Linked DNA regions of Homo sapiens: all the other regions are linked to region 2. The links are contacts of gene promoters, found by promoter capture Hi-C in human tissues and cell types (Jung and others, 2019). All regions are on one chromosome and are shown on one strand. Each heading gives the region's core, a stretch centred on a gene start or on the middle of the fragment in contact. The rest is flanking DNA. Distances are from core to core; before and after follow the strand shown. Region 1 overlaps EXOC8 (exocyst complex component 8). Region 2 holds the start of C1orf198 (chromosome 1 open reading frame 198). Region 3 holds the start of TRIM67 (tripartite motif containing 67).

Region 1 (3,659 bases), core at 83-2,582, 460 kb before region 2:
TCTAATACTATACTGTATGAAATATGTATAAATATATGATGCTGAGTCTGTGGAATGATACTTCTGAAATCAAAATTCCTCATAAGGCATGAAGTTGTAAAAACTTGAATGTGTATAGTTAGATATTTAAATGGTTGCTTCTTCATAGAATTGTCTGCTTTTTAAAACTGGAAGTACAGGATTTTCTTCAGGTAAAATCTGTGTGTTCCAATTACAGTTGTAGCTGAAGGAAGTATGCTTTGGTGAGTCAATTAGTATGGGAACTTGACTAAAGACCCCCAGTGTTGTAACGTACCTTTGTACCCAGACAAAACAATTATGTTACATTCCTCAAAGTGGCATGGGCTTTCTTCTCTAATTCTTCTGTTTTATTAGACCCAAGACAAGTTCTAAAAATTGAATGCAATGAGAGATTGTCCAGAAATGTAATATATACTAAAATATACCACTTAAGCATTGATTGCCTTTTCTTGTTTGCTTCAAGAATATAAAACTTGTTACTTGAGCTTGGAATCATGGGCTTGATTGAATTAATTACTCTTGGGGAAAAAAGACACCTTGTGGCATTAAGTCTTGCTTTGGTTAAAGCCTTATTTCACATAATTGCTAAAAACTCATTTTTGTTTAATATACTACCTATAGTTTAATTATCGGCACTTGTATTTTGTAACTTGATATCTTACCTAGGATTGGGAATTTGGGACATGACATGTACTATAAAAGTCAGTCTATGTACATACTGCTTATTGATGTGCTGTGATATGAGGGAATCTGAAATGTTTCATAAAAATAAAGCTTAAAAATTGTCTTACACTGGATAAAAGTGATATTAAGATATTATATCTATTGCTCTTCTTTAGTTGGTATTCAATATTTTTATATTCTTGTTACTGAAATATTCTTTGAAGACCCTAGTTTTTTGTTTTATTTATGTGGGGAGGATACTTAGGAAGCTGTTTGCTAAATTAAGTAAGTGTTCTGCTTACCGTCAGAATTGTGAATAAATCAGATCTCAATTTTTTAAAATTCCCTCGAATGGAAAATTTCAGAGGTACAAAATGTGAATTTATTATAAAAAAGTAGATTTTATACCATCTGCACATCTCTAAATAAAGAAAATAAAATGTAGGCCACAAGACCTAGGAACTAAATGACAAGGCTTGGCCTTTTTTTTTTTTTTTGAGACAGAGTCTTCCCATATCGCCCAAGCTGGAGTGCAGTGGCGTGATCTCTGCTCGCTACAATCTCTGCCTCCTGGGTTCAAGCCATTCTCCTGTCTCAGCCTCCTGAGTAGCTGGGATTACAGGGGCCCGCCACCATGCCCGGCTAATTTTTTTATTTTTAGTAGAGATGGGGTTTCAACATGTTGGCCAGGCTGGTCTCGAACTCCTGATCTCAGGTGATCCACCCGCCTCGGCCTCCCAAAGTGCTGAGATTACAGGCGTGAGCCACCATGCCCGGCCAGGCTTGCCCTTTTGAAAGTAATATGTATATCCTGAGGAAACTATCACATATTTAAAAGTATTGAATGCTATGCTTCATATTGACTGTAATGTGGGAGTGCAGAAGAATTTTAATAATTTTAAACATACTTCGTCCTCTTAAGATGCTTAGAAATTGGAAAAAGTCAACAAATATAAGTGAGAGAATAATCAAATGCACAGCTGTGTACAGTGGAAATACCAAGAAGGAAGAGAGCAGTGTACTTTTAAGGAGTTTAGAAAGTTCTCATGGAATTGTTGGCATTTGAGCGGGTCCTTGAAGAATGGACAAGACTTAAATGTGCAAAGAAAATGGAAGAGTAGGACCTGAGCCCAAGGCACAGAAGTGGGAATGTGGGTGTCATATGAAGAGACCTTCCTGGATGAATTGCAGAGTTTGGAAAAGCGTAAATAAGCCACATTTGCCTACAAAGCAAGCTTCAATCCATATGCAATGTGCAGAAGAGTTAAAGTAAAAAATAAAAGTCCTCATCCCCCCAACAATCCCATTCACTAGAGGTAACTACTAGTAAGAATTTCATGTACATATTTTTCCAGAAATTGTATCATACTCTGCATACAGTTCTGCATCTTGATTTTAGTCACTTAGCAGTTCAGTGTTTTAAGACATCTCGTATCAGTACCTCTTGCTGTACCCCACTGGGTTTTTCTTCTGTGATTGGGTAGTTGTCAATCACAGTGAATGAATATATCATAATTTTGCATTTTCCAATTACTTGGTTGGCTTCAAGTTTTGTTGATTACAAAAAAAAAATTCTGAAAACCTATGCACATCCTCCTATTCGCTTATGCGAATATATCTATGGGATGTATTTTTAGAAATTGCTCTGCCAAATTACATTTTAAATTTAAGCATTACCAGTTGCTCATCAGGAGGGTTATATCATTTTTAAGTTCTCTCCAACAGTATAGGAAAATACCTGTTTACATGAATGCTTATAAACCTGTATTCATTCACTGTTTAATTAAGAGTAGCCTTGCCAAGCACAGTGGCTCAAGTCTGTAATCCCAACACTTTGGCAGGCTAAGGAGAGTGGATTGCTTAAGCCCAGGAGTTCGAGACCAGCCTGAATAGCATAGGTAGACCCCCGTCTTTACAAAAAATAGAAAAATTAGCCGGGCGTGGTGGCGCACACCTGTAAGTCCCAGCTACTCGGGAGGCTGAGGCAGGAGGATTGCTTGAGCCCAGGAGGTTGAGGCTGTAGTGAGCCATGACAGCACCACTGCACTCTAGCCTGGGGGACAGAGCGAGACCCTGTCTCAAAAAAAAGTCATCTTATTAGTAATAATATTCATTGTTACTAATCTTCTCTGTGAAAAAATAGCTTCTAGGTTGTTCTCATTTTTGTTTGTTGGTTGGTTTGTTTTTTGAGCCAGGATCTCACTGTATCGCCCAGGCTGGAGTGCGATGGTGCTATCATGCCTCATTGTAGCCTCAACCTCCCTGGCCTGGCCCAAGGGATCCTCCTGCCTGGCTAATTTTTAAATTTTTCTATACATACAGGGCAGAGGTTGTGGGGGGTGGTGTTCACTTTGTTGCCCAGGTTGATCTTGAACTCCTGGGCTCAAGCAATCTTCCCACCTCGGCCTCCCAAAGTGCTTCCATTATAGGCATGAGCCACCATGCCCAGCTTCTAGTTTTGTATGTAATTATGAGTGAGGTTGAACAACTTTCTTTTTCTATTAAGCTTCCTGTTTATATCTTTTGCCACTTTTCTCTTAGATTATATTTGTATTGTGATTTTGTGGGAGTTTATTGTATATTTAGGAAATTAACCCTTCATGTGTACTGCTGTAGTTTTTCTCAGTTTGTCATTTGTTTGTATAGCCGTTTATTTATTTTCATAGTATGGTAAATTTTAACCCGTTATGAAGCCAGATTTATTTGGGTTTTTTTCTTTATGACTTCTGTTTTCGGTTAGGCTTAAGAAGGCCTTACCCACTCTCAGATTCTAAAAATATGTTTTTCTTCTAGTAATTTATTATATTTTAATATTTGAAATTTGCTTCATCTATTATTCATTTTAAAGTAAGTGGTGATGGCCGGGCACAGTGGGTCACGCCAGTAATCCCAGCACTTTGGGAGGCGGAGGCGGGCGGATCACCTGAGGCCAGGCTGGCCAACATGGTGAAACCCCATCTCTACAAAAGTACAAA
Region 2 (3,377 bases), core at 448-2,947:
CAGTTAGCCCCTTATCATCCAGATCATGGACTTTACATACTTTGGCCAATGTCCCTGAATTATCTCACGCTTTTATTATCTTGAAAACTTCTTTGACAATCAATTATTGCCAGACCCAAAACACCTCATGGGGTTGTGGTTTTTTTTTTTTTGAAAGCAACAATTATTTCCACAACTGCTTTGAAAACAGCATGAGACCAAGTTTCTAAGGGTACGGACAGCTTCTTATGTGAATATCAAAGCAAGCCTGGGGATGTTAATTAATTTCAAGAATATATCTTTAAACATTACCTATATTATTAAACAAGGATTAGAGGAGAGAAATCAGTGGGATTCAGGTCAATGTATTGAGCTTCTCTAGCATCAACTCAAACAGAAGATCATACTCCAAAAAACTGTCCTTAAACTTCCGGTCTCATAAATAATCCGCCACTTACTGTGGAGACTATATTTGGTGGTGCTTGCCTTTCCCTGCTTCAATATATTATGTTGTGAACATTGTTGATAATAATGTCTTTAACTGTAGAGCCTGCCACATTCATGACATTCCAAAAATATTCTGAGGATTTCTGGGCCGGAAGATGAGGCCATCTCACATTTAAAATAGGACTTTGCAAGTTATTTCTACTTTTGTGTTCAGAACTATCCAGGCAAAGACCCTGGATAACAGCTGAAATGCTGGTTTTTGTTTTTGTTTTTTTATTTTACGAGTGGACACAATTCTCACCTGAGTCCTGTTAGTCTTGTTAAAATCAGTCAGATGGAGAGAGGGGCTTGGGGGAAGTGGGGGCTCGCTATAATTTTAATTTTGTGGTCTGTCTGGGACACACCTCAAAATTACAAACCCTGGCCCCCTACCTGTTGGGATGTCGCCTCTGAGTCTGAAAACTTTCTGCTCCTCTTTGGTTTGTTTGCAAACGTCGAACTGCCAAGAGTTCTGAGCTCCTTGGGTTGGGGAAAGGCACCTGGGCCACCGGGTACTTCATGCACCCACCTGGCCCCGAGGGGCGGCGGGAGCTGACTTTCCTTGAGCACCAGATGCCCCGAACCGGTCCAGCCTTCCAGGTCGCCCTCCAGCCTCCGGGCTGCCCTGCGCCCCCGGCTATCTGCAGCTCACCGCGCCAGGCCCCGGGCCCAGCGTCCTGGACGGGCCCAGAGAAAGCAGAGAAGGTGTGGCTCGTCCCAGAAAGGGACAGAAGGAAAGGAGTAAAAACAGAAGCCAGGCAGCCAGCGGCTTGGCCTGAAATGCTGGGGCTTTCTTAGGCTCACTGGAGGTTGAAAAAAGTTTCCTTTGTCAAGCAGTGGCCACGTGGCGCTATGGCGGTCACTACCGGGAATTAACCACGGCCACCCTCTCAGAGCGCCGGGCGCGGACTCAGGGACACGCCGGCTACCACCTGAGCCGGGTAAGGGGAGCCCGAAACCTGCGGGCACCGCGGTAATCCACTATGGAGGCGTAAAGGGGGACTCGTGGGGTCCGCGAGGGGGTGGCGGGGGGGGGCCCGGAGGGAGGAGCTCCCGGGGAGGGGGCCACGGAGGGCCGGGGTCCCGGGGCTTGGGGAGCTGGGTTGGCTTGGAGACCCGGGTACGCGGCGGTGCAGGGCGGGGTTCCCGGAGGGGGCGGGGCTCCGGGTGGCGCGGGGCGGGGCGAGGGCGGGCACAGCGAGGGGCGGGGCGCGGGCCGGGAGCGGCGGGCAGGCCGGGCATGGCGTCCATGGCGGCGGCGATCGCGGCTTCGCGCTCGGCGGTCATGAGCGGGAACCGGCCTCTGGACGACCGGGAGCGAAAGCGCTTCACTTACTTCTCGTCGCTGAGCCCCATGGCCAGGAAGATCATGCAGGACAAGGAGAAGATCCGCGAGAAGTACGGGCCCGAGTGGGCGCGGCTGCCGCCCGCGCAGCAGGACGAGATCATCGACCGGTGCCTGGTGGGGCCGCGCGCCCCGGCGCCCCGAGACCCCGGGGACTCGGAGGAGCTCACGCGCTTCCCCGGCTTGCGCGGGCCCACGGGCCAGAAGGTGGTGCGCTTCGGGGACGAGGTAGGTGCGGGCCTGGCCGCGGACCCTCTTCCCCTCCCGGCGCCCCGAGGCGCCCCGGCCCGGTGGGCACCTGCCGGCGTGAGGCCGCCCCAGCTGGTAGGGGCTGGAAAAGAAAAGGCAGGAATGGCAGTGGGTGGGAGGGGAGCCCCAGAGCCGAAGTTCGGGGGGTGGGGGCTCCGCTGGGGGAGTTGGTTAAGAGATCGCCGAGAGGTGGGTCGTTAAAGAACCTCCATCTAGACCTGATCCGCCGGCTCGCACGGACTCCAGAGACTTCTCCCGGAGCTGTCGTAAGCGAGGCTGACCAAAGTGGAAACAACAAGCAATTTTAAACCAGACAAGCCTGGGTTTTAATCCAGCTCTGCTACTTACTACCTGTATGGCGGTGGGTCAATTAACTTCTTAGAGCCTCAGTTTCCACTGTGTAAAACGGGGGTAATAACGCCACCCCGTGCCTGCCCGTGAAGGGACTGAGCAAATGATATATACTAACATGAATACTTGTGATGAGATGTATGGGGAAAGTAAAATTGCCAAGCCAGGTAACAAGGAAGAAAAGGTGTCTTCCAAGATAAGGAGGGAAACCCATCCATCACCCTAAGATGTTTTCCAAGTGAGCACAATGCCCAGCGTATGTTTTAAGGGTGAGCATGGTGGCCCTGTTTTCCACCAAAAAACTAAGGGACGATAAGTTTAAATGAGCTCCAGTAAGTCTTGGCCACATAACAGGGCATGTTTAGGTCTCAGATCTAGACACTGTCCAGACTGCTAGAGGGACAGTCATTTGTGAAGGTAGAAACGCTGAATCTGTTCCAGAAAAAGCTCAGGGATGACCCACACTTAGTCACAAACGCCTGAATCTTCTGTAGGGTTCAGAAACTTGGTCTTCTTTTTCTTAGAAATGTGTTTAACCGAAGCCTGTTTGGTGCCATTAGAATTTGCACTGTGACTCTTTGGCGTTTCAAACTCAACTTTTGCCGTGAGGAGCAAAGTCAAGCTGAGCAAAGAGTGTAGGAATGAAATCGCTCGCTGTTAAGGCTGTTTCTTGGGCTAGAGGAAGGAGAAGCTGGGAGAGATTTTTTCCGAGGAAGTTGTGGATTGTGGATGGAATTCAAGTTAAGGAGGTTTAGATCAGATTTTCAGGCTTGGGTGTGCTGAGACATTTATTAATACGAAGTGTTCATGGTCATAAACCCACTTTAATGTGAGGGAAAAGTGAAATGACTGAAGGATGCTGCCAGTGTTTCTTTATTCTGATGGAATCAAAAGGAAATTCTCTACTGGACTTCAAATTCTGATGGCTTTGCCAGGAAAAACAAGGGTGTGGTAAACTGGGGAGGGG
Region 3 (3,856 bases), core at 794-3,293, 290 kb before region 2:
CTGTCAGCTCTCCAAGGGAGAGGCCAAAAGCCTTTCTCCTCGTACCCTCTTCCCTGGCACCTGCACTCCCGCGTCCCGCGGGCTCACCTTGTGCTGCTTCCACATGGCCCCCAGCGGCTTCACCTCGTGCTTGGCGTGCCGGCCCTCCTCCAGGCACAGATAACACACCGGGGTTCGACAGCTCACGCAGTACATGCTGTAGTTCTCCATTTCATGCTCGGGACACGTGGGGAACTTGCGGGCCGTGCTGCCCCCAGTCGCCCCCGCCCCCGCGCCTCCCGGGCTCTTGCAGCCGCCGCCTCCGCTGGGGGCGCCCTGGGCGGTGCCAGTGGGCCCGGAGGCTGCCTCGGCGGGCGGCGGCGGCGGCGGCGGCGGCTGCACCAGGCGATGCTTGGCGAAGGGTCCCCGGGATGGATGGCACTTGAGCTGGCAGGCAGAGCAGTAGAGGACGTCGCACTGCTCGCAGAGCGTGGCTGCTGGCTCTGGCGGGGTGCGGTCGCACAGCTGGCAGATGGCCACCGCCGCGGCTGCAGACGTCCCCGGCACGGCCCCGCGGCCCTGCTGGTACCGCTGCACGATGGCCTCGAGCAGCCGGTTGCGCTGGAAGCCGCGCAGGCCGCGGTGGTCCAGGGATGCGCTGCGGTGGCACTGCGGGCACGTGATGGAGCTCGAAGACGAGGACAGCGAGGAGCAGGCGGCACCCCGAGCCGCCGCAGCCGAGGAGCCGGGTGGTGCGGGCACCATGGGCAGCACGCGAACCCCGTTGGGGGACTTGAGGCTCGGGGTGTAGGACCCGTAGCCGCTGTCTGTCTCGCTGTACAAGCTGAGCTTGTCCGCGTGGTCTCCGCCACCTCCCGCACCGCCGCCGAGGCCGCCAGCTGCACTCCCGCCTGCACCGCCGCAGGCCGGGCCAGCCGCAGCGTCGTGCTCCAGAGAGGCAGCGGCGGCGGCGCCCGCCTGCAGCCCCGATCCCCGGGAAAGCAGGAGCGGCTGGGGCAGGTGCTGCTCACCGTCCGGGGTCTGCACCGCGATGGTGCGAGCGCAAGGCAGGCAGACATTGTGGGAACAGGGCAGGATGATAGGCTCCCGAAACAGAGAGCCGCACACGGGACACTTCAGCTCTTCCTCCATCGCGGCGCCGGCTGCCAGCGCTGCTCTGCGCTGGGGATGAATGGCCGGAGCTCGGGAGACTGGCGGAGGAGGACCAGCGCGGTGCGCCCCGGTGAGACGACGGGCGGGGGCATCACACGGGCATGCCCACTTCACAGCCGAGGGGCACGCCCCTCTCTCTGTCCTGTAGCCACCGCCCTAAGATGATTGAGGGGCGAGAGAAGGGAGGGGGTCCTCACCTCCTGCCCGAGGGTCCCGCACCAGCGGCTTCAACCTGCGGCCAGATTCCGGAGCCGGTCGGCTGCCCTCGCGGTGGCCTGCGAGGAGCTTTAGGTGATGAATCAGCACCAGCGCCGCCGCCGGCTGCAGCGCGCGCCTCCTCTCCACCCCAGGACCAGCGGCCGGGCTGCTGTGCGCTCGCTGCTTCAGCCCCTGGCTCCGGTGGGCGGCTACCCCGAGGCCCCCCTTCTGCCCCGGCCCAACTCCTTATCGGGGTGATAGCGAGGTGAGACAGGCAGGTGCGAAGGCCGCTCAGCCGTGGGGCTGGGATCAGCACCACGAGGCGGCGGACAGCGCCCGGGAGCCGAAGGTGGGGCTCCAGCTGCCTGCTCGCCGACCCCTGGGCCGCCACCCGCCGGGTCGCTGGGGCCGCGGCCACCTCGGCGGGACCCGACCGGCCCGGAGACAGCCGCTCACCCTACTCCTGGGCGGCTGTGGACGCCGGCTGACTGCGCCCTGGGGCTTTCTCCCTGCGGCCGGGATTGACCCGCTTCCCTGGTTCCCAGCTGCTGCTCCTGCGGCGCCTCTGACCTTGGGCCGCGCGACGCTGCAGCCGGCGGGCGGAGGGCGAGCGTCCGGCTGGCTCGGGAATCCCCTCCCCGCCTCCCTCCCGCCGCTGCCGCTGCCTCCCCGCGCGGCGCGCCGAGGAGTTGTAATTTCCAGAGCAGAGAGTAATGGGGAGGAGGGGGGAGGAGGCTTCAGCTCAGCGAATAAGGGCTCGCCTCTTGCTGCTAGGGAATCAAGGGGCAATTTTAAGGGTTTTGCAGGGAGGATCATTGTTAATAACAATCCATTATTTGGATGGAGATTGTATCTTGAATCAGTACAACGACCTGCCCCGCCCCGCCCCTGCCATCGTCTCCCTGGGCCACTCCAGTTCCACACCCCACCCCCAACCCACCGCCATAGAAGGGTGAAAACGGGATCCTAAAAAGCCAGTCGTTTAGAAATGGATAGGCAACATGGCCTGACAGTCGCTTCCTAAAACTACGATAAAGCAAAAAAATCCAAGTCCCAAAATGTCGGGCAGCCTGAAGTCCAAGGGTGAGGTTTTATTTATGAATTGAACCACAAGCCATTTTGTCTCTTCCTTTCAACCAAGGGTGCTCATCCGCGCTCCAGGTCAACTGTGTGCACGGACTGAGAGAGGACACGCGGTGCCGCTCACAAAATGGGGTTTCCTGAGAAAGGCGAGAGCGCGCCCGGGTAGACCCCTGGGAACCCAGCGCCCCCAGACCCAGCCCTACCCCGCTGCGGATGTGGCGGTGTGCGGCGGACGGGAAGGCGGCAAGCGGAGACGTTCCTTTTATGAATGGGAAAATCTCCACATTCTCCAACGCCAGCCACGAGCTGCGGGAACAGCCTCCCACCCGCGGCCCCGGCTGTTTGGTCTGCTCGGCTGTTCTTCCCCGCTGCTGCCGAGGGAAGGCTGGGTGGGGGAGGCAGAGGTGGGTGGGGACGAGCAGAAGAAAGTGCTGGCAGCGCAGCCGGCTCTGCCTACAGAAGTTTCACGCTGGCATGAAACAGATACAAATTAGGAAATCGTTTATTTAACAACGATATGAATATTGAAGTCATGCCTCCCTCCGTCCCAGGTTCTCCCGTGCTCCAAACAAAGACTAAAGACCGGAGTCGTAGCGCCAGGCGCGGGCCCAGGCTTCTGCTAGTCCCCGGGTGAGGAGGCGCAGGCTGGCGGGGTCAGGCAGGGGGAAGCTGCAGCCTGCGCCCAGGGCTTGGGGCTCTGTGCCTAGGGGACAGGAACCCCTGCAGGGGGACCCTTGGGGAGGCGCTTGGCGACGCGCTCCTGGCCGCAGCACGAAGGCCCAGAGCCTTGGAAGTCAGGACGCCCCGGGACCACTGGCCCCACTCAGCAGCTCGCTTAGGCTTTCCCTCGCTCGGATCCTGAAATGCCAAATGAATATTGTCATAATACTCATGTCTGAGAACTAAACGAGCTAGTTGCAAATACAGACGGCGTTTCCTACTTTCTGTTTTTGTTGTGGGGGCGGCGGTTGGAGTCTCTCTGGGTCGCCCAGGCTGGAGTGCAGTGGCGTGATCATAGCTCACTACAGCCTCGAACTCCTGGACTCAAGCAATCCTCCTACCTCAGCCTCCCAAGTAGCTGGGACTACAGGCCTGTGCCACCACGCCAGGCTCTGTTTTAAAATCCTATGAACCTTTAGTCCGGCTTTGCAGCTTGCTTCCAGTTTGTGCCAAAGTTGAAGAGTAGGCCAAGCTAAGGCCAGATAGAGCATCGCACAGCATTAAGAGACCTGACTCTACTTCCCCTCAGCTAGGGGACTTGGAACAATTATTTAACCAGGCATCAGTAGCCACAGATGGGAGATGGTAACAACCTTGTCCTCATCTGCCTTGTGTAGATAAAGCCACAATGAGCTGGATCCTGCCTGCAACTCTCAGATAAGCCTTCCAGAAATGTGCTATGGAATCTTCAGGGTCATGTCAG

What was found. The method cuts DNA at HindIII sites, captures the fragments that hold promoters and counts their contacts. A contact is called where the count stands out against the background at its distance.
Region 1: a fragment that was not itself captured here is called in contact with the fragment with the promoter of C1orf198 in region 2 in 1 of the 25 tissues and cell types used here (psoas muscle).
Region 3: the fragment with the promoter of TRIM67 here is called in contact with the fragment with the promoter of C1orf198 in region 2 in 1 of the 25 tissues and cell types used here (ovary).

The regions. Positions count from the first base shown.
Region 1 is chr1:231,329,912-231,333,570 of GRCh38, reverse strand. EXOC8 (exocyst complex component 8) reads left to right here. Exons shown (of 1, transcript NM_175876.5): 1 at 1-818. Among named protein-coding and RNA genes, the nearest start is that of EXOC8, 6.1 kb to the left of the region's middle. The HindIII fragment of the contact is 5,987 bases long and covers 1-3,659 here.
Region 2 is chr1:230,866,841-230,870,217 of GRCh38, reverse strand. C1orf198 (chromosome 1 open reading frame 198) reads left to right here and starts at 1,697. Exons shown (of 4, transcript NM_032800.3): 1 at 1,697-2,038. The coding sequence starts at 1,706. RefSeq lists an enhancer at 1,134-1,725 and a silencer at 1,549-1,768. The HindIII fragment of the contact is 20,091 bases long and covers 1-3,377 here.
Region 3 is chr1:231,160,245-231,164,100 of GRCh38, reverse strand. TRIM67 (tripartite motif containing 67) reads right to left here and starts at 2,043. Exons shown (of 10, transcript NM_001004342.5): 1 at 88-2,043. The coding sequence starts at 1,131. RefSeq lists an enhancer at 1,143-1,777 and a silencer at 1,686-2,001. The HindIII fragment of the contact is 24,635 bases long and covers 1-3,856 here.